6 separate regions of the Homo sapiens genome follow, and all the other regions are linked to region 3. The links are contacts of gene promoters, found by promoter capture Hi-C in blood cells and fetal thymus (Javierre and others, 2016). All regions are on one chromosome and are shown on one strand. The core of a region is centred on a gene start or on the middle of the fragment in contact, and the rest is flanking DNA. Distances in the headings are between cores, read along the strand shown.

Region 1 (4,385 bases), core at 1,860-4,359, 3.2 Mb before region 3:
GTTGTGAGACCATAAGGGTCACAGCCTGAACTAATAACAAAAAAGAGGTTAATCGCCGGGCGCGATGGCTCACGCTTGTAATCCCACCACTTTGGGTGGCCGAGGCGGGTGGATCACCAGGTCAGGAGATAGGGACCATCCAGGCTAACACGCTGAAACCCCGTCTCTACTACAAATACAAAAAATAAGGCCGGGAGCAGTGGCTCGCGCCTGTAATCCCAGCACTTTGGGAGGCCGAAGTGGGCGGATCACGTGAGGTCAGGAGTTCGAGACCAGCCTGGCCAAAACGGCAAAACCCCGTCTCTACTAAAAATACAAAAATTAGCCGAGCGTAGTGGCGGGTGCCTTTAATCCCAGCTACTTAGGAGGCTAAGGCTGAAGAATCGCTTGAATCCGGGAGGCGGAGAATCGCTTGAACCCGTGAGGGGGAGATTGCAGTGAGCAGAGAACTCACCATTGCACTCCAGCCTGGGGTGACAAGACCAAAACTCTGTCAAAAAAAAAAAAAAAAAAAAAAAAAAAAGGAAAAAGAGGCCAGCCTAGCTCAGTGAGAAACTGATTAACTATTACAACATGAGTATGTAATGTTTTGCACATACAGTAATCATAGAGTAGTTCATAATGTACTTGCAGAGACTGATTTTTAGAATAAAATTAGATATTTGCTAAAGAGGTAAATAATCATACACATTTGAAATATAAAAGGTAAACATTACTGAGAAACGAAATCTGATAGCTGGAAGGCAGGGCAAGGCAGAGCCAGCCTAGGTCAGGAAGGTCACACAACATTTATTTGAAACTTTTTTTTGAGACGGACTCTTACTTTGTTGCCCAGGCTGGAGTGCATGGAGTGCAGGGGCTCGATCTTGGCTCACTGCAACCTCCGCCTTCTGCGTTCAAGCGATTTTCTTGCCTCAACCTCCTGAGTAGCTGGGATTATGGGCGCCCTCCACCACGCCAGGCCAATTTTCTTTATTTTTAGTAGAGAAGGGGTTTCGCCATCTTAGCCAGGCTGGTCTCGAACTCCTGACCTTGTGATCCACATGCATCGGCCTCCCTTCTGGCTGGGATTACAGGCGTGAGCCACCGCGTCCGGCCATTTGAAACTCTTTTTCTTGGAATAAAGTCATCCTCGGTCTTTTCCTCCTGCACTTTATTTGTAAATGTAAAAGACAGGGTTTCTGGGCACAGCTGATTTCCTAGTTCAACAGAAAAGAGGAACATGAGGGAGCTCAAGCGGCACCTTCACAATTCTAAGGAAATACAGGGTAAAAGCCACCTTTCTTTCTCAAACAGCTTCCTGAAGTGTTTCTAGGTGGAATGAGGAAAAAAAAATAGAAAGTTCTTGCCCCAAAAATGTGGTTGGCGAGGGAGAGAAAGGAACAGAAAGGACAGCTACAGAAAGAGTAAAATATAAGGAAAAGAATAGAGAACCAAATTTGAGAAAGGTGAGGAATCCCACCTTGGAGCTATCATCAGGCGTCGTCTTTTGCAGTCAGCCACTCCATAGGCTGATCACTTCGAGTTTGTACGGAAGCAGTTTCTACACGCTATTTCACAAATGCCCGAAACGACTGTGATTACCCCTCTAGAGATGGCGCCATTTGATTCCAGCAGCCACAAAGCACTAGAACAATCGATGCTAAGAGGTGACAGGAAAAACAGGCTGCAAAGACCCAGACAATGGAATGCAGCGGTGGTCAGCCTAAAACACTGTAGAAGGGCAAGATGAGCTGAGTAATTTTTAACTGGGCATCATTTTTAGAAACTGGAGTTTAAGTACCCCCTTTTCCATTTTTTCCTGAAGTCGTGGGCAGGGCGCAAGGTCTGTGAATCGGCCGACCGGATGCAGCTGGTGTGGAGAGTTCCCAATCAGGTCCGATTTATTACTATATAAAGTACTGCTGCGAGGCTTGCCGTGTTGCATTTTGTTTAGTACAAGACATGTCTGGGCGCGGCAAAGGCGGGAAGGGTCTGGGCAAAGGAGGCGCTAAGCGCCACCGCAAAGTTCTGCGCGACAACATTCAGGGCATCACCAAGCCCGCCATCCGACGCCTGGCACGGCGTGGAGGCGTTAAGCGCATCTCAGGCCTTATATACGAGGAGACACGCGGAGTTCTTAAAGTGTTTTTGGAGAATGTAATCCGCGATGCAGTTACCTACACGGAGCACGCCAAACGCAAGACAGTCACAGCCATGGACGTGGTTTACGCGCTCAAGCGCCAGGGCCGCACCCTGTATGGCTTTGGCGGCTGAGTGTTTTACTTACTTACACGGTTCCTCAAAGGCCCTTCTCAGGGCCACCCATGAAGTCTGTGAAAGAGCTGTAGACTAAAGATAGTTAATTTCTTAAGAACACTTAAACGTATGGCAGTTTTGGCAAATTAGCGATTCCACATAAGCAGTCGCTGAAGTTTGAGGTTCGGTGCCCCTTTCAGCATTACTTAGTGGTTAAAAGTGCCGGCTTCTCTGATACACGGCCAAATCTATAACGCCTCTCTGGTTTTTGCAAAAGTCATAATGAAACAGCCGGTCTCATTTATCTTGTATCGATTACTTTACCGCTACCAATGCGAGGGCTGTGTAACTATGACACTGTGGTCCGCAACGCCCAAAATGTTTTAATATCGCCCTTTACAGAAAAAGTCGGCCAACTTCTAAAACATTAAGTACGTTTAAATTTGAGAAATACTGGCATACCACAACGCTCGAATTTCATATCCCCTTCAATGCCTCCATTTACAAATTTACTCTAGTTTCACTTTTCCTTTACGTTCTTTAACTTTTTGTCAAATCAGTAATGACACCTCGTAATTAAAATAGTGCAAGGCAAGTTTAGATTTATCAAGCTTATATTTAAACAGGATTTTGATGCATGAAAAATCCTAGACTTTTGGGGGATTTTTTTTTGTTTCCGTTTTTGTTTTTCTTTAGCTAGCAAAACCATTTTACGTTTCTTGACCCAAAACAGAGGCGGAATGTCTCCCTTTCACTAGCAGATTAAACTGGGAGCCAATTCCGTGTGTGAGACGTGGCATGGCACAGTCTACTGTCCAATCAGAACGCGAGGGCAGCTATAAATACCGGGATGATCAGTTTTTTTCTCTCATTTGTGTTGAGTAGGTACGTCTACTTAGCCATGGCACGAACAAAGCAAACAGCTCGCAAGTCCACCGGCGGCAAAGCGCCGCGCAAGCAGCTGGCCACCAAGGCGGCTCGCAAGAGCGCTCCGGCCACCGGTGGCGTCAAGAAGCCCCACCGCTACCGCCCCGGCACCGTGGCCCTGCGCGAGATCCGCCGCTACCAGAAGTCGACCGAGCTGCTAATCCGGAAGCTACCTTTTCAGCGCTTGGTACGGGAGATCGCACAGGACTTTAAGACCGATCTGCGCTTCCAGAGCTCGGCGGTGATGGCGCTGCAGGAGGCTTGCGAGGCCTACCTGGTGGGGCTATTTGAGGATACCAACCTGTGCGCCATTCACGCCAAACGCGTCACTATTATGCCTAAAGACATCCAGCTTGCGCGCCGCATCCGAGGGGAGAGGGCATAAATATTCCTATCAGCCCAAGAAGTCTGTCCAACCCCAAAAGGCTCTTTTCAGAGCCCCTCAATTGTCACCAAAAGGAAGCTGTAGCTTTTGAGACGTGTCTTAGCTCCATGTTAAATACAAGCTGTGGACAAAACGTGGTAGTGGCCCAACACACTATAATGCAGGAGTCAGGTCACAGGCTGTTGGTATGCTAAATCAATTTCACATACAGAACCTGTTCCTACTGATAAGGATTATCACTCAAAAAAGACATGTCATGGGGTCAATTTTACAGATGAAGTTTAGTTTTGAAAAGTATTCCTGTTTTTATCCTTGAGGAATGTGTCTCCTGCGTATCTACCTGCCCCTACTGAAGGGAACAAGTAGCACAATGAGTGTCCACAGGCTCTGGTGAGGCCGAGGCAGGCGGATCACAAGGTCAGGAGATCAAGACCATCCTGGCTAACACGGTGAAACCCCCCTGTCCACTAAAAAAAAGACTGCCGGCCGTGGTGGCACGCGCCTGTAGTCCCAGCTACTCGGGAGGCTGAGGCAGGAGGATCGCTTGAACCTGGCAGGCAGAGGTTGCAGTGAGCCGAGATCGCGCCACTGCCCTCCAGCCTGGGCTACAGAGCGAGACTCCGCCTCAAAAATACAAAAAACAACAGGCTCTAAAAACTACACACATGAGAGTGGAACAATAGACAATAAGGACTCAGAAGGGAGGAAAGAATGAATGATAAGTTACTTAATTGGTACAATGTAAGCTATTTAGCTCTTGTATAGCCCATGTAACTTGACCACCTTGGAGCATATGCACATAACAAAGTTGCCATCGTACCCCATGCAAGTAACA
Region 2 (4,028 bases), core at 901-3,400, 3.1 Mb after region 3:
GACTAAAACAATTATATTTAGCGACAAGTAGAAAGGATTAAATAGTCAAATACAAGAATGAAAAACGCAGTACATAGTGTCGCGAACTCAAATCGGCATTTAGATAGATCCAGTGGTTTAAACGGCACGTTTTTGCTTATAAAAAAAGTGCAAAAAAGATGTGGTTTACAAGTTAAAGCTACAGAATCCCTTTTTGCTGTAATTGCACCAGTTTTAAAGCCTCTGGACAGAGCAGTATTTCGTTTAAAACTTTGTTTTTCTTAAAAGCTTACAGTGTTTGGCTAATTCTCCTCCCCTTTTTACAAGACGGGGGCCGGAGGGTGGACACTGGTGGCAGGTTAAGGGATACTGTCACTTTAAGAAGCCTGCAGATTGAAGTGTAAACATGGAGAAATTAGGGGCTGATTTTTTAAACTGTGTGAGATATTAACCAGCCGCCCTGTTATAAAATCAGGAAATCCAAACAGCGATTTACACCGATTAACACCCCCTTTATATATTTTTTACAAAAATACACTGAGAAAATAATCAAACGTTTTCATCTCTCTTGTCTTTTTTTGTTTTTTAAAAGTGTCAAAAGTCTACATTTAAATATAAAAAATTAAAAGTTAAAACTCTAGCCCTTCAGTGAAGGAGACGTAAAATGGCGTGGGTAACAACAACTACCAAAAAAAAAAAAAAAAAAAGAAAAAAAAAAGAAAAAAAGGAAAAGGAAGGAATAAAGAAATAAAGGAAGTAAAAAGAAAGGAAAGAAAAAAAGGGACAAAAGAAAAAATATGTTTGGCCAGTATAAATACGTCCACATATAAAATGGCATCTGATTACATTTACAAGGAAAAAGAAATACGAGGATGGAGCATCGGTGAAGGAAAAAAACACGTCTTCTCATTTACACCTATAAGGAATAAACACACACACTGAGAAAAAATTTGGTCCTGAATTGTTTTTTTAAAGTCCAGCACAGATTTGAGTTGCGTTTGAATCCTTTAAAGAGTTAAGAATGAAAAAAAGCTGGTGATAATTTCGTTGTAGGAATCAAACATAGCGCCATCTATCTGCTTTTTATATTATCCTACACTATTTTAAAAACTGCTCAACAGTCTTATACAGAAATCTTTAAAAGATAGACAGGATAACATGCTATATTAACCCCACCATTGAAATAATCCAACACCATCACGATTCCGATTAAGAGAAGAAAAAAATCTTTTTTTTTTCTTTTTTTTTCTTTTTTTCTTTTTTTTTTTCCGAAACCACTCGCCCTCCACTGACTGCCCCTGTACCACATCAAACAGTCTCCTCTCCTCCACGCCTCCGGGGTCTGGGAAGTCTCACCTCACTGATTTCACGTAGAAAAGAAGGCGGAGGCCCAGCAGCCGCCGCCGCCAGCTCCCCAACGTGCAAATCCATTTCAGTTTGACCGTGAACCCCCTTCCAGTTCGTGTCCTCCTCCGCCCCCGCCCCTAGCTCCCGCTGCTGCGCTTCCAACGGGGTTCTCGGGTCATTTCCTAGCGCCGGTCACACTGGCTGGCCTCCTCCCCTCAACATCTCCTCCTCCGGCTGCAGAGGGGGCAAGGGGAAAAGAGGGAGGAAAAAAAAGCCCCAAACGGGAATTCGCCTGCGTGGAGTCTCTCAGTCCCGGCGTTCCCCCAAAACATCTGCCATCGGCCAAATTCGTCACCCCGGAGCCTTCTGTCTTCATCACGCGTTTAAAAAAAGGGGGGGAGGGGTGCGCTGGGTTCTCCCCTCCTTTCTTGACCAAGAAGCAAAATAAAACAAAACCAAGGTGGTGATGCAGGAAGGGGGAGACTCCTTCAAGTCTCTAGAAAACTAACTCGCCTTCTTGCTGGGGGTGCAGACAAGTCCGGAAGCTCGTTGGAAGGGGGAGGGGGTCTCTTCAAGCAAAGGGGAGCAAACTCGAAGTCGCTTTTTTTTTTTTGCCATCAACAACAACATCAATAACAACAATCACAGGTCGCCCCTGTCTACCCTCTTCCTCCTCCGCGTCCCTCCGGCTGGGCAGAGTGGGTCCCCGGCCCGGGAAGGTGGGGGATGGGAGCGCGGGTCCAAAACGCCGCCGCGCTCCTTGATCCGACGACGAGAACGCGGGCGAAGCCAGCCCTGCTTACTTTTTCTTTCTTTTTTCCCTTTTCTCTTTAAACTCTTCGTCTGTCCTTTTCGTTTCTTTTTTTCACTTTTTTTTTCTCCTCTCCTACCCCCCCCGGCCCTTCTCCCTGCCTGCGCGCCCTTCAGTAGGTGAAAACCAGGTTGGAGATGCTGGACTCGAGCCAGTCTCCCGAGATCATCTCGCTCACCTCGGGCGTGCAGTAGTCCGGGAACTCGAAGTGCGAGCCGGAGCCGGGCTCGAAGTTAAAATCCAGGTCCCGGTCGAGCGCCGACGACGAACTGAAGCTGCCCAGGGACATGCTCTCAAAGTTTGAGCTGGGGTTCAGGTCGAGCAGGTCGTCTTCGAACTCGTCGTCGGAGGACGAGGAGCCCGAGGAGGAGGAAGAGGAGGAGTGGGACGAGGCCGAGGAGGACGCGTGCGAGGGCGCGCTGGACGGGGCGGGCGAGGCGGCGCGCAGGCTGGCGTAGCCGCGGTGGTCGGCGGGCGAGCGGCCGGCGGCGGGGGACGAGGCGGCGCTGCTGCGGCCGCTCAGGCTGGGCGCGTCGGGCGAGCAGCCCGCGCCCTCCTCCTCGTACAGGCCCAGGGGGTCGCTGGGGTCGGCTCCCGCGCCCACGCCGCCCACGGGCGACGACGACGTGCCCAGGCCGCCGAACAGGTAGACGCGCTTCACCTTCTTCTCCGCCAGGTGCTTGCCCGGGGCCGCGAGCGCTGCGGAGGCCGAGGCTGCCGAGGAGGCGGAGGCCGAGGCGCTGGGAGTCCGCGCCTTGTACAGCGAGTGGTGGTCGGCGGCGGCGCCCAGGGGCAGCAGGGCGGCGGCCCCCGCCTGTTCGGCGGCGAAGGAGGCGGCGGCGGCAGCCGCTGCTTTCCCGCCGCCGCCGCCGCCTGCCAGGATGAGCTTGGCGTGCGGTTTGCTAACCCCACCGCCCGCGCCGCCCGCCACTTTGGAGCCGCAGCTCTTTTTCTGCGCCGGTTTGGAGTTGGCGCCGCCGCCACTCGCACCGCCGCCTCCTCCCCCCGCGTTGCTGCTCCCGCCGCCGCCGCCGCCCCCATGGCCGCCCCCGCCACTGCCACCGACCTTGTCTCCCTTCTCCCCCGGCTTGGAGGAGGCGGCGGCCGAGGAGCTGGAGTTGGCGTTGCCGGACTTCACCTTCTTCCTGGGCCGGTACTTGTAGTCGGGGTAGTCAGCCATGTGCTTGAGGCGCAGCCGCTCCGCCTCTCGAATGAAAGGGATCTTGTCGCTGTCTTTGAGCAGCTTCCAGCGTTTGCCCAGCCGCTTGGAGATCTCGGCGTTGTGCATGTCGGGCGACTGCTCCATGATCTTGCGCCGCTCGATCTGCGACCACACCATGAAGGCGTTCATGGGTCGCTTGATGTGCCCACTCGGGGTCTTGCACCAGCTCGGGTCGTCGGCCTTGCCGCCCGTGGAGGCGGTGGAGCCGGGCGTGGGGGAGGAGGCGATTCCCAGCTCGAGGCCGGCGCCCGAGTCCGAGCTCTCGCCGGCCAGCAGCGCTTCCGTGTTCTCGGCATTGTTGGTTTGCTGCACCATGGCCTCGGCTCGGCGGGCGCCCACGCGCGCTCACACCCTCGCGGCGGCCGCCGCGCGATCGCCGGGCCCTCCCGGTTCCCCGGGCCAAGCACACGCCGAACGGGAAGACGCGCGCGGCGGCCGAACTGGCCCCTCAACTCCTCGCAGGGGCGGAGGTGGGTAAAGAGAGAAAAGTCCCCAAAAGATTTGGGGAAGGAGTTCTCCGCCTCTCGCAGAGGAGTTATAGTTCCCAGGCTGGAGAGTCTCTCTCTCCCTCTCTCTCGCTCTCTCACCGCGCTGCAGTTTGCTGTCTCTCGGCTGAGTCTGGAGACCGTGCTAAAGTAGAGAGGAGTTTCTCGAATGCTGGTTGCTGAA
Region 3 (4,514 bases), core at 106-2,605:
TTTCTCTCCCTGTTGCCGCTGTCTCCGCGTCCTTCCCCTCCGTTGCCGCCCAGGGCGCCGAGCCAGACTATGGGTCCCAGGTGGGGGCTGAGCGGCGGCAGCAGCGCGGGCGGTCCAGTCACGGTGCGCACTGCAGCGGGGATGGAGGGGCTCAGTTGGCTGGTGGTTTTCTCTTGACATGGCTCCTGCCCGTGCTACCAGCAGCGCCCCCGCCGCCGCCGCCTCTTCCGCCGCCGCCACCGCTCCGCCCGCAGGCTGCGGCTAGAGGGCCCAAACCCCGCCCTAGAGTCGGTCCGTGAGTCCCGGGCTCCGCGGGGACAGGGAGGGGATTTCCCCGTCACCCACCCCGCCCTAGCTGCCTCAATTCCACCCCCTGCCCCTCGGGAAACAACTAACGACCCCACCCTAAACAATCCAAACTCTGGAAACATGGTCTGTTCAACGTGAGAGAGAGCTAATCCGGGAACTTAATTTTTTGGGGGGAGGGTGGGTGGGCTTACTTTAGAAGTAATATTAACACAATTATTTTCTTTTTTTCCCCCACTGAACCTTCCCATTTACCCTCTCCCGCCCACTCCACCCGGGCGGGAATTGTTTCCACGATGAAATGAGTGAAAACCTGAGTGATCCTGTGTCTCCCGTGGTGCGAGTGAGTCGCTGCCGCTGAAGGCAAGGGGTGGGGGTGGGACCTGCGGGGGTGGAAGGCAGGTGGTCTCCGGGCACCGCCTGGGATTTGGGAGAAGAACCCGCCACCTTTGCCTCGGCAATGCTCACAAGAAGATAAATCGCACTCCCCACCATTTTGAACGGGGGCAGATCCACAGGGAAGTCTCCCTTGGGGAATGTAGGACTAGTTGCAGGCTGGGGGTGTTGGGAACCCGGGCATTAATCAGGTCTAACCACAGAGCCGGAATAATTAATACCGTATTATATACCCCTTTTCCTTCTGCCGTCATGATTCTCCTTGGCAGCAGCGTTAGCAGCCGCCTGAGGGTGAAAATGTGGGTGATGGGGAAGTTGGTAATGACTCCGCTGTTTTTTCTCATGGCTCCTTTGGGCCACAGCTGCCCGCCCCCGGTATACACTGTAGTTGATTGCAGGGAAACCCTGTACCTCTCCCTTTCCTTCTCTACCGATTTTGCACTTTTCTCTATGCTCACCACCAAGTGTAATCAATAACAAGCACTGACAATACATAGCAATAGTGAAATCTGAAATAACTAAGAATTAGGTACTACAGCCATGGAGCTGGCTGGGTAAAATCTAATTGGATATTTCAGTTTCATTCACCTACCCTGTTTTGGTGTTTGGTTTTGGTTTTGGTTTTGGTGAGTTTTTTTTTTTTTTTTTTTTGGAAAGCAAGGATCACACTTCCCCCTCCCTGTTCCTTAATCCCTTTTCTAAAAAGGGGGGAAAATCCGGATGGATTTTAGGGATTGGTCTGGTGTCAGCTGTGTTTTATTGCACACCTAAATCCTGATTATAGGCTTTTCATTTCTCCGCAAAGCCTTTATTTTGGCAGTTAAGCCAAATGTGTTTTCCAGAAAGTTAGTTATTTTCTCCTCTTTCTTTCCTTTCTTTCCTCCCTTTTTCCCGTCTGACCCCAAACGTTATTGTCCAAACATGACTGGACAGCAGCTTTTGTTTCTTGACCCTGTAATATGACAGTCTGCTAATATTGACAGAAGGTGCAGTTTTTGGGTTATAGTCGTGATTTTCGCTAATCAATCATATTAGCAGGAAAAAAAATGACTTGTTTCTGTTGTACTTGAGTCTTAAGAAAAAGTGCCCATAGTTTAGTGACAATTTCCAAAGGCTTTAGTACCACCTGTATTTCAAAATGGGGGACCCAAACTCCCGGAAGAAACAAGCTCTGAACAGACTACGTGCTCAGCTTAGAAAGAAAAAAGAATCTCTAGCTGACCAGTTTGACTTCAAGATGTATATTGCCTTTGTATTCAAGGAGAAGGTAATTTAAAGTTCTTAATGGTGAATTAGCACAAGTAATTTTTGTAAGTGTATATTATTTGTTACTCTTAAATTATTATGAATATTAGGTTAAAGAGTGGTTGAAAAAAAGTCTGCTTTGTATGCTCTGTTTTTTCACCCTTAGGGGTGATTCTGTGAATTGAGCAGTTGCAGCATGCGAAAAGACCCTTGAGCGTTCTTTGGTTTGGAAATAAATTTGAGTCTGAAGCTTAGTAGTAGTATACACTGAGTTGACATGGGGTGGGCAAGATTACAAAATTTTATATGGAGTTAACATGGGAAACCTTATGATGGAATTTAAAGATTATCTAATGTAGAGTATAAATAAGATGGTTGAAAGTGTGAAATTGTAATCAGACTGTTTATATGCTAAAGTTTATCCTGTTTCTTAAACTGCGTAATGTAGGTAACCTTTTCTCTTACATTTAATGAAGTAGAATACACCTTTTAGGAGCAATTAAATACTGAAATGGTTAATTTGTGTTTAGAAGTGTGATTTTCTTTTTTACTTAGAGTTCATTTTGCCTTGTATAGAAGTACAGTTTTTAAAAACTCAAAATGACCTAGAGGAAGTTTCATTTTTAGGGGCGGTGGAGGTCTTAATCAGAATTAGTTCCGCAGTTAAATAGCAAACAGTAAGTTGTGAGTAGTCAAGGATGGGATGATAAGAGCAGTATTTTTTGCAACTTAAAATGAACATTTTCTTAAATTATCAGCAAGGCTTATTTGACCAAAGATGAGGTTATGAATGTAAGGAAGTGCTACTTGGATTTTGGTGCTTAAATTGTTAGCTAATTTCAGATCAGAAATACAATCTTAGTGTGGTATCTATTAAGTATCTGGAAGTTTTCCAGGTTTCCCCCTACTGTTTAACTCTTATTATTTTTGTTGCTGAGACAGGCCTCACTGTATTGCCCAGGCTAGTCTTGAACTCCTGGGCTAAAGTGATCCTCCTGTCATGGCATTTTAAAGTGCTGGGATTACAGGCAGGAGCTGCCACGCACAGCCCCAACTCTTAACTCCTAAAAGGTTATTTGTATTTAAGAACATTCTTAGCTGCTGAAGTATAGCATTGTGAAGTGATTTTTAAGTAATTTTTGAAGTGACTGTCCCAAGATTGGGTGGTATCAAGGACTTACATCTCCACTTTTGTTTTGTTGACAAGCTGACTCAAAATTGATGAGATTGGATTTTAGTTGAAGATGATACAGTGTATGCTCTTTAAATAAATCCAAGATAATAAGTAGTGAGACCATATCTTTGTATTTAATCTATATATTGCCCCAAATTGCACCATCTTAATTCTTTAACACCAACGATAATCTGGTTTTATTCTGTGAATGGACAGTGTCCATGCAGTTGCCCTGAATAATTCATGATATATACTTAATAGTACAGAATTTTAAAAAGTAGTTTAGTGATGCGTACTTGGTCTTGAGTAGTATTAAAAGAGAACTTGGTGTGCTTCTTTTTAGTCTTTCAAATATTGATGGTTTTGGCTGGGTGCAGTGGCTCACGGCTGTAATCCCAGCACTTTGGGAGGCTGAGGCAGGCGGATCACTTGAGGTCAGGAGTTCAAGGCCAGCCTGGCCAAATGGTGAAACCCTGTCTCTACTGAAAATACAAAAATTAGCCAGGTGTGGTGGCGCAGGCCTGTAATCCCAGCTACTCGAGAGGCTGAGGCAGGAGATCCCCTCGAACCCAGGAGGCAGAGGTTGCAAGTGAGCCAAGATGGTGCCACTGCCCTCTAGCCTGGGCAACACAGTGAGACTCCATCTCAAAAAAAAAAAAGAAAAACCAGAAATATTGATGGTTTTGATAATGTAATATTGAGAAAGTAATGGAAATTGGCCCATATAAGGAATAAAACTATTCATTTGTCTGAATAGCGTTGTTTTAAAACTGGTGAGATTTTTAATTTTAAGAAGTATTGTCCAAAATAGTGCTATGGATACCATTATGCTATAAAACTCAAGCATTAAACATTCTAATGACAGTTTGTACATGTATGGTTGGAGGGGGAGGTAGGGGAAGAACAGAAGGAATTACCTATCTGAAAATGTGTTTTCAGTGTATAAGTTACTGCAGACAGTTAAGAATTTTGTGGAGTTAATGTTACATGACATTGTAATATGAACTGAGTGTTAAAAGGCTGTGCTCCCTGTGGGTTAATACACCATTTTCTTTTCTTCTAGAAGAAAAAGTCAGCACTTTTTGAAGTGTCTGAGGTTATACCAGTCATGACAAATAATTATGAAGAAAATATCCTGAAAGGTGTGCGAGATTCCAGCTATTCCTTGGAAAGTTCCCTAGAGCTTTTACAGAAGGATGTGGTACAGCTCCATGCTCCTCGATATCAGTCTATGAGAAGGGTAAGTTCTGCCTTAAGTCTTGACTTGATAAAGTTTCTGTGGATTAACCTTGCATTTCCCCGCCCCCCGAACCCCCCTTAAAGTGGATAGTTATGATAGTGACCAGTCTCTTCAGGTAAATTTGTCTTTGTGCCATGTTGATAACTGGGATCA
Region 4 (4,524 bases), core at 998-3,497, 4.5 Mb after region 3:
TTTGAATGCAGGACCTGGGTTTTAGACTTCTGAGGCGAGGCTTGTTCAGGGGTGACAGTTATTTTGTACCGTGTGTGATGCGGGACACACAAGGACACTTTGGTTTTCCCAGGGTTCGGTTGGCTCATATGCCTGGGGCTGGAGCTTCTGAGTAGGACAGGTTAGGGGGAGGAGAGGGGCCCCAGTGAAGTTATTTGAACTGTCCAGGAATTATCTACAACCATTAAAATTAAAAATGGCAACAACAGTGATTCCTGGCAAGAAACCTTCCTGAAGATGAAGCCCGTCTTACTCATTTCCTTGTCTCTTCAGGTGCTGCAGGCTAGATCTGCGGGATACTTAGTAGTGACCCAATCAGTAAATGTTGATTTAAATAGAATTGGGCAGGGCATGCTGGGGGAGGACCCACTGCGCTCCTGTTTTGTTTCATGCTTTTTTGCCTGGTTTTCTTCCCCTTCCTCTCACCAGTGCTCCTTTTCCTTTCCTTTTAACAAGAGCACACCTGCTGCCCTTTGCGCACACCCCTTCAGCAATGAGAAAGTGAGACCTGGACATTTGCCTTATTCGGGTCCTGTTTACTGAGCCACCCTCATACCTGGCTCACTCTGAGGACCTGACTGAGAACTCCACCTGATGTGACCATTGCGTTCTCATCAGTTGCAGAATACAGAAAGTCAGAAACTTGGGAAGGGTTTCGGTGCCAAAGCATTTGTGCTTTTGTAAATTACTCTTTAGTTTCTGGTGAGGATGAGATAGACCCAGGGACCCAGGCAGAGGCGGACATAATAGCAAATTCTTTAGTTCTGAAATTAAATAAAACTCATAGCTGAATTTCCTTAAGGGGAGTTTGTTTTGTACTTACCTCTCCACTCCCTATCAGAAGGTATTTTAATTGCATTTTCTCTTCTAAGCTCTTCTACACAGCTAGAAAGACTCCAGGAAGGCTTTTTGTATGGCTAAAGGACCATGGCAAGTTATGGCTGGGAGGTGCTAGAATAATGTTTTTAATGTCTTTCAATTGCATCCCCTACTTTCCTATAAAGGTAATTCTGGTTTTAATTCATAAAAAGGAACAAAAGAGCCTTAGGAATGTTTAAAACTGGGAGGGAGGGAGGGAGGGAGGGAGGGAGAGACTTCTGGGATAAACCGAAGGAGAAATGTTTGCCATGGCCAGGAGCACCTGAGATCTCTTAGCTCTTAGGTCAGTCTGACCACCCTCCAGCAGGAGTGAGTGTGGATGACCCTTGGTGGAAGAAGCACTTAAAAGGCAGTGCCCCAGGTAGCTTATTTTAGGCCCAAGGAAAATCCCCAAACCATAAATAAGGTCGTTTGAGGCTACGTTGTGGCTTGCGAGTTTGGAAGCTTTGTGTGTTTTTTCCCTTTCACATTTTTAAGGCTTTTTAAAGGCTTAGATGTCAGACTGACCTGGGTGCAATTCCAGTTCTGCCAGCAAACTTCCCTTTGTGACTGCCAGCTGGTACTCTACCCTCTTGGAGACTCAGCATCCTCATGTAAAATGGGAGATGACAATAAGACCTACCTTTTGAGGTTGAGAAATTTTATATGATGTGAAATGCCCGACATTAGGAAGGTTCTTGTATCAGGGTCCTTGCAGGAAACGGGAACCAACCCCATTGGCTGAAATGAACAGACTTTAATGAATTACTTAGAGGGGTATGGGCAAGTTTAAGGGAATCAACAAAGGATGTTGAGATGCTGAGATCAGAAGTAGGGGGCAGCTGGAGGGGAAAGTGGAGTTACTTCATTGCCATTTGTGAGAGCTGGACCTGCCTGGAGGTCATGAAGAATCAGAGAGAGAACCTCAGCCCTTCTTCCTACCTTGTAGCCCTTCCATCTCTTCACAGTGGCCCCCAAGGCCTCAGCCTGCAGGGGCTCCTCCTGTGGCACAGGATAGGGAGGATAAAGGTGGAGGCAGATCTAGGGAGTAACCTGAGGATAAGAGTGCAGGCCTTGATACGTGTTTGCTCCTGTCCCATTAGAGAGTGACTTTTGATTGGCCTGGGATATGCTCAAAATTATAAAATATATATCTCAAGTTACTCAAATAGTTTTTTGTATGCCTCTTAAGGACACTGAATCATTTCCTAATGTCTTAACATCCTAATTCCTGATTAATTGCACTCCTGTGAATGTCTTTAGCCTCTGGATCCTGTGTCAAGTAGTTTATTATCAGCAAAAATGGAAATACCTGGTAAGCATTCTGCTTCGTATGTGAAGAACTCTTTATTCATTCTTTTTCATCTGATTCTTCCATTTATCTGTTCTGTTAACTTCGTGGCATCCTTAAATAGGAAAGCCTGTGTGTGGTTAGGACTATACTCAGGAAAAGTCTATGGTTTTTGTTTTAGGGATTTTGATTAGTCTGACATCCTCCTAAAGATGTGAAATATAAAATTATCTCCCTTAATTAGAGACAAATAGCGCATAATAATTCAGATGCAGAATACAGGAAATGGGATGATGACTTAGGGGCCTCTATAGATGCTTCAAAGATAAGGTTGTTGAAAACTTTATTTCTAAATAATGGGCCCTTGTCCAGTGAGCAAATATGGAGTTATGGTAGGTGGTAGGATTATGCCAATAAAAACCTTCACTTAGGATAAAGTGGGCAAGCACTTTTCTTTCCTGTTTTGGGGGAATCAAGGAATCATCTGCTCCTGTCCTCCTCACTTTGTTTTGGTTGTGGAGTGTAACTTAATGTGCCTTTAAACTAAAGGTTTGCAAGACTGACTCAGTTGCCAAAACAGATATGATAATGTTGATGTTAGTAATTTGTGTAGTGCACAGTTACGTCATTATGTCCTAGGAGCTGTGAAAGCTGAAATGGAAAGTGTTTCCAGGCTTTAAGGAACTTCCAATTTGGTGGTTGGAAATTCTGCCCACCAGCAAAGCATTTTTGGGGTATTTCACCTGATGGTGCCCCCAAACTGTGTGTGTGTGCATGAAGTATGAATTCAGTGTTACACTAGGACTCTCTGAGGTATTTTTTTTTCCCCCTAATTTGGCATCAGCAGAAAAAGGGGCAAGGGGAAAATAGACCAGGAGATAAGAATCCAGGAAATAATTTTGAGATTAAAACAGCGAAGGTTTAGGATTATTAATGTAAGCTTGTGTCACCATTTACAAGTCTGGATAAATGAAGACCAGCTTTAAAGACGTGGCATTCCAGACTAATGGTGATACCAGGAGTGAGTTTGATTATTTCACCTGGGCCCATGACTACAAAGTTTCTTTTTTTTTTTGAGACAGAGTCTAGCTCTGTCACCCAGGCTGGAGTGCAGTGGCACGATCTCGGCTCAGTGCAACCTCCGCCTCCCAGGTTCACGTGATTCTCCTGCCTCAGTCTCCAGAGTAGCTGTGATTACTGGAGCGCGCCACCATACCCGGCTAATTTTTGTATTTTTAGTAGAGGCGGGGTTTCACCATCTTGGTCAGGCTGGTCTCGAACTCCTGACCTTGTGATCCGCCTGCCTCGGCCTCCCAAAGTGCTGGGATTACAGGCATGAGCCACCACGCCCGGCCGACTACAAAGTTTCTTTACCTACCTGGATCTGTCAGTCCTGGTTGCTTCCCTTGGCCATGCTTGCAAAGCCCAACCTTCAGTTCTCTTCTTATCTAAGTCTTGTCCTTCATTAAAAGCTCAGCTCACATTCCAGTCATTGTTAAATCAATTAAATATTTATTTAATGCTATTAGTGCCAGGTACCTGGCCATATGGTAGAAATACAAAGATGAAAAAAATCAAGGTCCCCATCCTGCAAGGGCTTATATACTCTAGAGGAAACAAAAGGCCCATGTAAGTATATAGGCTGTGTATGCTCACAGACCTGCGTAGGCACTGCACAGGTTTGTAGATGGTGCCGTCGTGGAACAGAGAAGGGATGCCCACAGGACATGCTGGACTCATGTAGAATTTACTGTTTACATTTGATGCTTGGTAAATGTTACCTTATATTGTTAGTTATCTTGCTGGGTTTGTAAGCTTAATTCCAAACTAATTTGAAGTCTCTTTGTAGTCAAGGCTTGAGTTCCCATACAACTTTATTTATGGATCCTGACATCTAAATTTCATGGAATTTTCACCTGTCTTGAAATGTTCTTCCTTAGATTTTTTTTAACCCTTTAAAATGTAAAATGCATTTGTAGCATGTAGGCCACACAGAAACAGGCAGTGGGCTGGATTTGGCATGATAATCGTATCTCCTGAAATATGGTGCATGGATTGTCATCAGAATCTTCTGCCATGGGTGTTTCTGGGATCCTGCCCCGTCCTGCTGAATTTGAATATCAGGGTGTGAGGGTACTTCCCGAGTGATTCTTATGCCAACTAAAGTTTGAGAGCCATTACTATAGTCAAGGGAGGACATCGCAGGGTTTAAGTTGTGAAAAGATTTTCATTTTGTGAAGGCATACGGAAGGTCCTCACTGAAGGAAGTAGGGATGGAGGAGGAAGCAAGGGTTTTGCGGATGAGTGCAGGGTTAGAGAAGTATTTAAGGGAAATT
Region 5 (4,177 bases), core at 196-2,695, 3.1 Mb before region 3:
CAGGGGAGGCTGAGGTGGGAGAATCGCTTGAACCCGGGAGGTGGAGGTTGCAGTGAGCCAAGATTGGGCCATTGCACTCCAGCCTGAGCGAAAGGGCGAGACTCCGTCTCCACAAAAAAAAAAAAAAAAAAAAAAATTCAGAGTATAACCCTGTATTTATTAATAAGAAAGAAAATCAAATATACGGAATCAAAGTTGCTCCATAATGGTTGATAACAAATCTTTAGTTGGGTCATATAAAAGTGTCTTTTTAAAAACCTACAAGCGTCCAAGCGAAGCGGCTCACGCCTGTAATCCCAGCACTTTGGGAGGCTGAGGCGGGCGGATCACGATGTCAAGAGATCAAGAGCATCCTGTCCAACATGGTGAAACTTGTTCTTTACTAAAAATACAAAAAATTAGCTGGGCGTGGTGGCGCATGCCTGTAGTCCGCGCTAATCCGGAGGTTGAGGCATGAGAATCGCTTGAACCCGGGAGGTGGAGGTTGCAGTGAGCCGAGATTGCACCACTGCCCTCCGGCCTGACGACAGAGCGAGACTCCTTCCAAAAAAAAAAAAAAACCCCACACACAAAACCTACAAACACCAATTTTCTAGTTATAAGAGCTTGTTTTAAGGATTTTAATTCTATTCCAATTAAGTCCTAAAGCTAATGCAATTATCAAAATCTCGAAGAGATTTTATTCAAACTTCACAAAAGGTCTCTAAAGTTGTCCAGAAACCTTGGTGAAACAGATTAGGAAATTTGGAAAGGAAATAATGCGGAGACCCGTAGTACCAAATCATGAGACCTCTAATACAATTTTAAATATTAATGTAATAAAATTTAAATTTTGGTGTAATAAAATCATAAATTTCAATATTGGTCCCAAGTATAGAGAAAAAGTACATTTATGTTGAATGTGGAAAACATTATTTTTAAAATACAGCCGATTAAAAAATTGCTGGGGAACTGATTATAACTATTGATAATTCCTAAGAAACATAGACACCAAAACATCACTTTTATCTCTTTAATAGAAATTGGTTAAATTATAATCAATATAAGGAGGTTACAAAACTCCATATACAACACTGTATACATTTTCTTGGAAAAATATGTGCAACTGCTCTGCAAAATACATGATTAACTAGCCTGTGTGATGGGATAACATTGTAGTTTCTTAATTTCTTGTCCTTTCTTGTATTTCCCACAGTATTGATGTATATCTTCTGCGTTCAAAAGCAATTTTTTAAAGCCTCATAACGTGGTAACAAAATACTATGCACGTTACAAAATTCAGAACACGGAAACAAGAAGCTCGCTTTTTTTTTCCCCCTATTTCGGTTTGGCCCTTTAGATTTCCCCTCCCCCACCGGGGCGGGACTTCCCGCCGACTTCTTTCAGGTTCTCAGTTCGGTCCGCCAACTGTCGTATAAAGGCGCTGCCTCAGGCCAGAGTCCTCACAAAGCGTTGGGTGAGACTCCTCTTGCTCGTCATGTCTGGCCGCGGCAAAGGCGGGAAGGGTCTTGGCAAAGGCGGCGCTAAGCGCCACCGTAAAGTACTGCGCGACAATATCCAGGGCATCACCAAGCCGGCCATCCGGCGCCTTGCTCGCCGCGGCGGCGTGAAGCGCATCTCCGGCCTCATCTACGAGGAGACTCGCGGGGTGCTGAAGGTGTTCCTGGAGAACGTGATCCGGGACGCCGTGACCTATACAGAGCACGCCAAGCGCAAGACGGTCACCGCCATGGATGTGGTCTACGCGCTCAAGCGCCAGGGCCGCACCCTCTACGGTTTCGGTGGTTGAGCGTCCCTTTCTATCAACAAAAGGCCCTTTTTAGGGCCCCCACTTTCTCAGCTGAGGAGCCGTGATGCTTGTTTGCCCAGTTTCTCTTTACCATTTGTTCGCGCCTGCTGAGTTTGTGCTGCTATCGGAGCATGCGTCTCTAGTCGCTGTAAGTAGGCATCAGTCACTAATCGCTCTCCAGTAAATAAAATACCCAACACAACTTGTTTCAGGTGCTCCAGAGCTTACTGACATGGGCCGTCGCGCAGACTGTAGTGCAGTGTCATCATGGCTCACTGTAGCCTCCCGATTAGCCGGAACCTCGCGCCCACCACCACGCAAGGCTAATTATTTTTCCAAAGACCGGGTCTCCGTGTGTTTCCCAGGCTAGTTTCGATATCCTGGCCTCAATCCCCTCGCCTATGCCTAATGTTGGTATTACAGTAGTGAGCCACCACGCCTGGCCACGATACTGTTGAGGTTTTAGGGTTAGTTACATTTAAGGGGCAATTTTCGCAGTGTAGTGGGGAGGAAAGTCAAGCAGTTATAGGTTTCTGGCGCTGTGAATCCAACTGCTGAACATAGCAAGAACTTATTATGCAACAACCTTTAATCAGTGGACCGTAAATAAGTTTAGTTTATCGGTTTTGGCCCAATTCTTGAGAAAGGTGAGAATTTGAATCCTTGAGTAGAAATACGTAGCTTATCAGTACAACAAAGTGATCACAACAAAGACTAACTTATCCTTTGTTACTTAACGTGGGCAGAGCTTTACCGCTGAGAATTCCTCAGCCTTTGAGTGTTCTCTTATTTACAACTGAAGTTGATAAGATGGTATTAAAAGTGAGATTCCTAGTAAGTAAACTTAAAGGCCTGAAGGACCAGTGATTAATGGGAAGTGCTAATAAGTCATATTTGAGGTTATCCAACCCGAGATTCTGATTTAATTGGTTTAAGGATACTATCACCTTGTGGGTTAGATTTGAAAAATAATAATTGCTTTAAGGAAGGAACCTGTTGGTATTTAAACAAAAAACTTTCCTTCCTGATTCTTACATGCCGTCACTTAGACAAATCTCTGGTCTACATGGCTGGATCTCTTTCTGCTAGTTAAATTCTGTGCTACCCTGTGAAAAAGAACTGAGATTAATAAAACGGTAGTGAGAACACAGGGAAAGATAAAAATCATAGCAAGCCCATCCAGTCATGCTGTAGTCATCCTCACAAGGATAGGGAAGGATCTTGTCCTTCATTTATCACCCAAAGTGTGAGTACAAACTTTAAAAACATATGATACTATAGGAATAATGAAGATGTCTCCATTTGCAAAAATTGTGTGAAAAAATGCACTTGACACAGGTATTTCCTATGATTTCATAATAGACAAAGGTTTAATTACACAACTCCTGGCTGAATCTAGAGTACTAAAATGTGGCTGTTAGAAAAGGTTGCTCTCTGGGCCCGATGCAGTAGCTCATGCCTGTAATCCCAGCACTTTGGGAGGCCAAGGCTGGCAGACAGCTTTAGGCCAGGAGTTGGAGACCATTCTGGCCTATGTGTTGAAACCCCGTCTCTACTAGGAATACAAAAAATTAGCCGGGCGTGGTGGCACACACCTGTAATCCCAGTTACTTGAGAGGCTGAGGCTGAGAATCGCTTAAACCTGGGACACAGAGGTTCCAGTAAGCCGAGATCACACCTCTGCCCTCCAGCCTGGGTGACAGAGTGTCGCCAAACAAAACAAAACAAAACAAAAAAAAAGATTGCTCTTACCCAGGGATGATGGTCAGATGCAATTACAGGTTATGAATTTGGCATAAAAGTAATGCTAAGTGTTTCACACTGCACTTACTGTTGTCAGTGTTCTAAGTGTTTTTTATTTACCAATTCATTTACACTTGTTTGTCTTTTTTTTCAGGTCTCCAACTCCTGGGCTCAAGCTGTCCTCCCACTTCTGCCTCCCCAAAAGCTGAGATTACAGGCGTGAGCCACCCGGCCCTACTCATTTAATCCTTACAACAACCCTTAGAGCTGGGAACTATTTTTATCATCATCACATAATTGTTTACAAAAATAAATCGAGGCTTAGAGAGCATATGCACCTCAACCCAAGATCCCACAAGTAGAATATTATTGTTACAGATTTGGTTGCAAATAATCTGCTTCTTATGATTGTGCTTTAAATTTTTCACCGTGTCACATCACTTTGGTGGTGTAAAATTATAAAACAACATTTAAGTCTTAACTTTAAAAATGTGTTTTTGGCCTGGTGCGATGGCTCATGCCCATAATCCTAGCACTTGGGGAGGATGAGGCAGTCAGATTGCTTAAGGCCAGGACTTTGAGACCAGCCTGGACAACATGGTGAGGCAATTTCTCTACTAAAAATACTCAAAAATTAGCTGGGCC
Region 6 (4,487 bases), core at 1,454-3,953, 4.2 Mb after region 3:
TAATATTAAAAAAACAGGAAGGAAAGGATAAAGGTCAGTTGGTAGGTTTCACTTAATATACATCATTGAGCACCACACAAGTGTTTTTGTTTTTTGTTTTGGAAAACTTAGATGGCAGTTTAGCAGACACCTATGGAAAGAAAATACTTTTATGGAGTACGGATTCTCACCCGCTTTCTCTACATATGTTATCTCACTTTACTATTCGTTACCCAAGACACTGTATTTGACCATGTGTTTACCAGAAGAATATCTTTACTTGAAAAAGTAAAGGTAATAGGAGGCAATAGGCCATGAAGAAGGGTCAGAAATCGTGAGTTTTATGCCTGACTTAGGGTTTCATAGTGATTTGGGGCAATTACTTTGTTTTGCAAATGCCTTTCCTAGTACAATTTCATCTAATTAAAATGCCATCCATCTACTCAAGAGGCTGATGTGGGAGGATCACTTGAGCTCAGAAGTTTGAAAACAGCCTGGGCAACACAGTGAGACCCAGTCTCTAAAATAGATTTAAAAAAAAAAAAAAAAACCACCCTTTTCTCTGTTTATCCATATCCATAAAATAATCTAAACTGTGCCCTGGGGTCCACTGTTGTCTTTACCCACCTAAATTAAAATTGTGTATTTATGTTGCCCTACTTTTTTTTTTTTTTTTTTTTTTTTTTTAGATAGGGTCTTCTTCTGTCACCCAGGCTGGAGTACAGTGTTACCATCACAGCTCACTGCAACCTCTCCCTCCTAGCCTCAAGAGATTCTCATGCCTTAGCCTCCCAAGTAGCTGGGACTACAGGTGCACACCACCATACCCATCTAATTCCATCTCTTTCACTAGACCAAAAGTAGGCCCTGGGTTATCTTCTTGGTTGTAATCGCACTACCTAGCACATAACCTTGTGCCTATGTTTATAGCTTCTCAATAAACATATGTTGAATGAATGAATGAATGAATGAATGACTCCACCCCTTTTCCCCCAAGATCTAGTTGAGTTCAGTAAAAGATATTTTACTGAGTATGTACCCCATGACCACAAGCACTGTGATAGATGCTAGAGCTAAAAAGAAAGAAAAAAAGTACTGCCTATTGCAATTGCAGGCTATTTTGAAAAAATTCATTTCAGTAGAGAATAGCAATCACTATGAAAGATGAATGCACAGGAACACAAAGGTGAAGTAAGGGAAATGGATGAAGGCATTCCAAGCTGGAGAGTCAGCCAGAGCAAAAGCAAGGAGGCCTGAAATGATGAATTATTCCACAGTGTAAAAGCAAAGAGAGTGAAGCTGGTGATGGGAGAAGTCTACCAGAGAAAGGGAAGCACAGGGACTAGATCAAGGTGAACCTTGTGTATTCAAAGGCATTAGACTTAATCCTGGATGTATGTAGTAGGCAACATGAATGTGTTCGAGCAGATTATTCTCTCAGGACAATGGGTTTGAGGACGATATTTCAGACATGAAGAAATAGTAAAAGCCTAAATTGAGTTGTTGGCTGGGAGGAATGGGAAGGAAGGACAGATTTAAACAAATTGAGGAGGTAACAGCAGCAAGACTTGGTGATTGATAGGTACGAAAAAAGAGGAAGAAAGGATGTTTTCAAGTTTTGGCTACAAAAACTAACTAACAGGTGAAACCTCTCTCTTTAAGCACCTTTAGTCTAAATCCTTTGAAGTCAGTAACCCTACCTCTAGGAATTTATCTTACAGAAATATACATAATGACCTATGTTCCAGAGTATTTTTTGAAGCATTGCTTACAATGACCTATGTTCCAGAGTATTTTTTGAAGCATTGCTTACAATGACCTATGTTCCAGAGTATTTTTTTAAGCATTGCTTACAATAGCAAAAGACTGGAAACCCTCTCCGGCTCCTCCTCAATAGAGTATTGGTTAAATATATTTATAGTATCTGTACAACCTTTGAAAAGCAACCAGTAAGTCCGGGTGCAGTGGATCACGCCTGTAATCCTAGCACTTTGGGAAGCCGAGGCGGGTGGATCGCCTGAGGCCAAGAGTTCAAGACCAGACTGACCAACATGGTGAAACCCTGTCTCTACTAAAAATACAAAATTAGCTGGGTGTGGTGGCATATGCCTGTAATCCCAGCTACTCAGGAGGCTGAGGCAGGAGAATCTCTTGAACCCAGGAGGTGGAGGTTGCAGTGAGCGGAGATTACACCATTGCACTCCAGCCTGGACAACAAGAGCGAAACTCCATCTCAAAAAGATTAAAAAAAAAAAAAAAAGGCCAGGCACGATGGCTTACGGCTGTAATCCCAGCACTTTGGAAGGCTAAGGTGGGCGGATCACGAGGTCAGGAGATCAAGACCATACTGGCTAACATGGTAAAACGCTGTCTCTACTAAAAATACAAAAAATTAGCCAGGCATGGTGGCATGAGCCTGTAGTCCCAACTACTCGGGAGGCTGAGGCAGGAGAATCGCTTGAACCTGGAAGGCGGAGATTGCAGTGAGCTGAGATCGCGCCACTGCACTCCAGCCTGGGCAACACAGTGAGACTCCGTCTCAAAGAAAAAAAAAAATAATGCTTTGTTTCTTAAATTAGAGTTAAGCTTCATAAATATACACCATCCTATTTTGTTCCTGTTTTTTCAGCCAACAATATAACACTAAATGCTTTATAAATATTTGGTAATAAGTAAACAAACCAATTGGTGTATACCAAGAACATTAAAAATGCAAGTAAATCTATAAAATAATAGTAAAGCTAAGATTTTTTCAAACACTTATAAATGTGTGCCAATAACCACCCATAAGTAACCCTATAAATGAGGAGTGCTATTATTATCTTGTTATCTCTTTTAACAGAGAAGAAACCTAAAGCTTAGGCAGTCTGACTTCAGTTGTTTTAACAACTCTATATGAATACTTCAGAAGAAAGCAACAATAGTGCAAAATTTCAAATAGAGAAAAAGCATTGGAGAGAAAAAACAAAAGAGTGATCAAGGAAAAGTGGAATAAAATCTGTTTGCCTGGACCGGGCACAGTGGCTCATGCCTGTAATCCCAGCACTTTAGGGGGCCGAGACAGGTGGATCACGAGGTCACAAATTCAAGACCAGCCTGGCCAAGATGGTGAAATCCCGTCTCTACTAAAAATACAAAACTTAGCCGGGCGCGGTGGCAGGCACCTGTAGTCCCAGGTACTCGGGAGGCTGAGGCAGGAGAATCGCTTGAACCTGGAAGGTGGAGGTTGCAGTAAGCCGAGATCGCGCCACTGCACTCCAGCCTGGGTGACACAGTGAGACTCCATCTCAAAAAAAAAAAAAAAATCTGTTTGCCTTAAATATTTTATGTTGGCCTTCACAGTAAAAATTGAAGAGAAAATATGGACAAGAAAGAAGTTACACAATTCTTACCCTCTCAGTGACTAATCAATAAAGAATAAAATATGAAAATTATAAAAATCTGGGGCCAGGCACGGTGGCTCATGCCTGTAATCCTAGCACTTTGGGAGGCACAGGCAGTTGTTTCACTTGAGCCCAAGAGTTTGAGACCAGCCTGGGCAACATGACCAGACCCTGTCTCTACAAAACAAACAAAAAAGTAGCCGGACATGGTGGTTCCAGCTACTCGGGAGGCTGAGGTGGGAGAATCACTTGAGCTCAGAAGGTCCAGTTTGCAGTGAGCCGAAATCACACCGCTGCACTCCAGTCCAGGCAGCAGAATGAGACCCTCTCTCAAAAATAAATAAATAAAATTAAAATTAAGAATTGGGAACTGCTTTTTAAGATTATGTTTTGGAGACAGGGTCTGGCTTTGTCACCCAGGCTGGAGAACAGTGGCACCATCAGAGCTCACTGGAAACTTGAACTCCTGGGCTCAAGCAGTCCCCCCACCTCTGCCTCCCAAGTAGCTGAAACTACAGGGGCATGCCACCACGCTCGACTAATTTTAAAACTCTTTTTGCAGCAACAGAGTCTCACTATGTTGCCCAGACTGGTCTTGAACTCCTGGCCTCAAGCAGTCCTCCACCTCAACCTCCCAAAGCGCTGGGATTGCATGCATGAGCCACCAGCCCAGCTGGAACACATGTTTTAGATTTAGTTGATGATCTGAGCAACTAGCCATTATACATACACATCTGTACCAATCAATATCCCTTTTCATGAGAAAATATTCATGTGCTTAATTCACTCTTGAAAGATGATAAACAATATACATGAAATTTTCTATGTAGAACATTAGGTGAATTTAGTAGAATGAGAGTTAAAACAGATTTTTATATTTATATATATATAAGCTACATATAAGCAAAGTGAAAAGTATGACTATTAAGTGCTCTTAATTTTTTTTTTTACAGGAGCATGCCACCGTGCCCAGCCAATTTTTGTAATTTCAGTAGGGACGGGGTTTCACCATGTTGGCCAGGCTGGTCTCGAACTCCTGACCTCAGGTGATCCGCCTATCTTGGCCTCCCAAAGTGCTGGGATTACAGGACTGAACCACTGTGCCTGGCCAACTAAACAGTTTTT

Evidence for each region. The method cuts DNA at HindIII sites, captures the fragments that hold promoters and counts their contacts. A CHiCAGO score of 5 or more calls a contact.
Region 1: a contact is called between the fragment with the promoter of H3C11 here and the fragment with the promoter of C6orf62 in region 3, in 1 of 17 cell types (fetal thymus). The highest score is 7.3, in fetal thymus.
Region 2: a contact is called between a fragment that was not itself captured here and the fragment with the promoter of C6orf62 in region 3, in 1 of 17 cell types (fetal thymus). The highest score is 7.4, in fetal thymus.
Region 4: a contact is called between a fragment that was not itself captured here and the fragment with the promoter of C6orf62 in region 3, in 1 of 17 cell types (M2 macrophages). The highest score is 6.2, in M2 macrophages.
Region 5: a contact is called between the fragment with the promoter of H4C12 here and the fragment with the promoter of C6orf62 in region 3, in 2 of 17 cell types (M0 macrophages and neutrophils). The highest score is 7.0, in M0 macrophages.
Region 6: a contact is called between a fragment that was not itself captured here and the fragment with the promoter of C6orf62 in region 3, in 1 of 17 cell types (fetal thymus). The highest score is 8.7, in fetal thymus.

Annotation. Positions count from the first base shown.
Region 1 is chr6:27,871,070-27,875,454 of GRCh38, reverse strand. It overlaps H3C11 (H3 clustered histone 11), which reads left to right and starts at 3,109. Exons shown (of 1, transcript NM_003533.3): 1 at 3,109-3,610. The coding sequence starts at 3,140. The coding sequence ends at 3,550. It overlaps H4C13 (H4 clustered histone 13), which reads left to right and starts at 1,921. Exons shown (of 1, transcript NM_003546.3): 1 at 1,921-2,307. The coding sequence starts at 1,945. The coding sequence ends at 2,256. RefSeq lists enhancers at 1,641-1,690, 1,771-1,940, 2,241-2,290, 1,722-2,359, 4,275-4,385. The HindIII fragment of the contact is 2,761 bases long and covers 2,852-4,385 here.
Region 2 is chr6:21,594,181-21,598,208 of GRCh38, reverse strand. It overlaps SOX4 (SRY-box transcription factor 4), which reads right to left. Exons shown (of 1, transcript NM_003107.3): 1 at 1-4,028. The coding sequence starts at 3,674. The coding sequence ends at 2,250. Among named protein-coding and RNA genes, the nearest start is that of SOX4, 2.4 kb to the right of the region's middle. RefSeq lists an enhancer at 1,698-1,897 and silencers at 2,708-2,757, 2,808-2,897, 3,668-3,847. The HindIII fragment of the contact is 3,762 bases long and covers 270-4,028 here.
Region 3 is chr6:24,715,995-24,720,508 of GRCh38, reverse strand. It overlaps C6orf62 (chromosome 6 open reading frame 62), which reads left to right and starts at 1,355. Exons shown (of 5, transcript NM_030939.5): 1 at 1,355-1,969; 2 at 4,185-4,361. The coding sequence starts at 1,841. RefSeq lists a silencer at 142-311 and an enhancer at 1-674. The HindIII fragment of the contact is 3,349 bases long and covers 1-2,199 here.
Region 4 is chr6:20,207,185-20,211,708 of GRCh38, reverse strand. The region is part of intron 1 of MBOAT1 (membrane bound glycerophospholipid O-acyltransferase 1); the gene reads left to right. Among named protein-coding and RNA genes, the nearest start is that of MBOAT1, 3.0 kb to the left of the region's middle. The HindIII fragment of the contact is 1,766 bases long and covers 1,365-3,130 here.
Region 5 is chr6:27,828,828-27,833,004 of GRCh38, reverse strand. H4C12 (H4 clustered histone 12) reads left to right here and starts at 1,445. Exons shown (of 1, transcript NM_003541.3): 1 at 1,445-1,831. The coding sequence starts at 1,478. The coding sequence ends at 1,789. RefSeq lists enhancers at 1,136-1,961, 1,885-1,994. The HindIII fragment of the contact is 8,845 bases long and covers 1-4,177 here.
Region 6 is chr6:20,529,548-20,534,034 of GRCh38, reverse strand. No RefSeq gene overlaps it. Among named protein-coding and RNA genes, the nearest start is that of CDKAL1, 2.7 kb to the left of the region's middle. The HindIII fragment of the contact is 271 bases long and covers 2,568-2,838 here.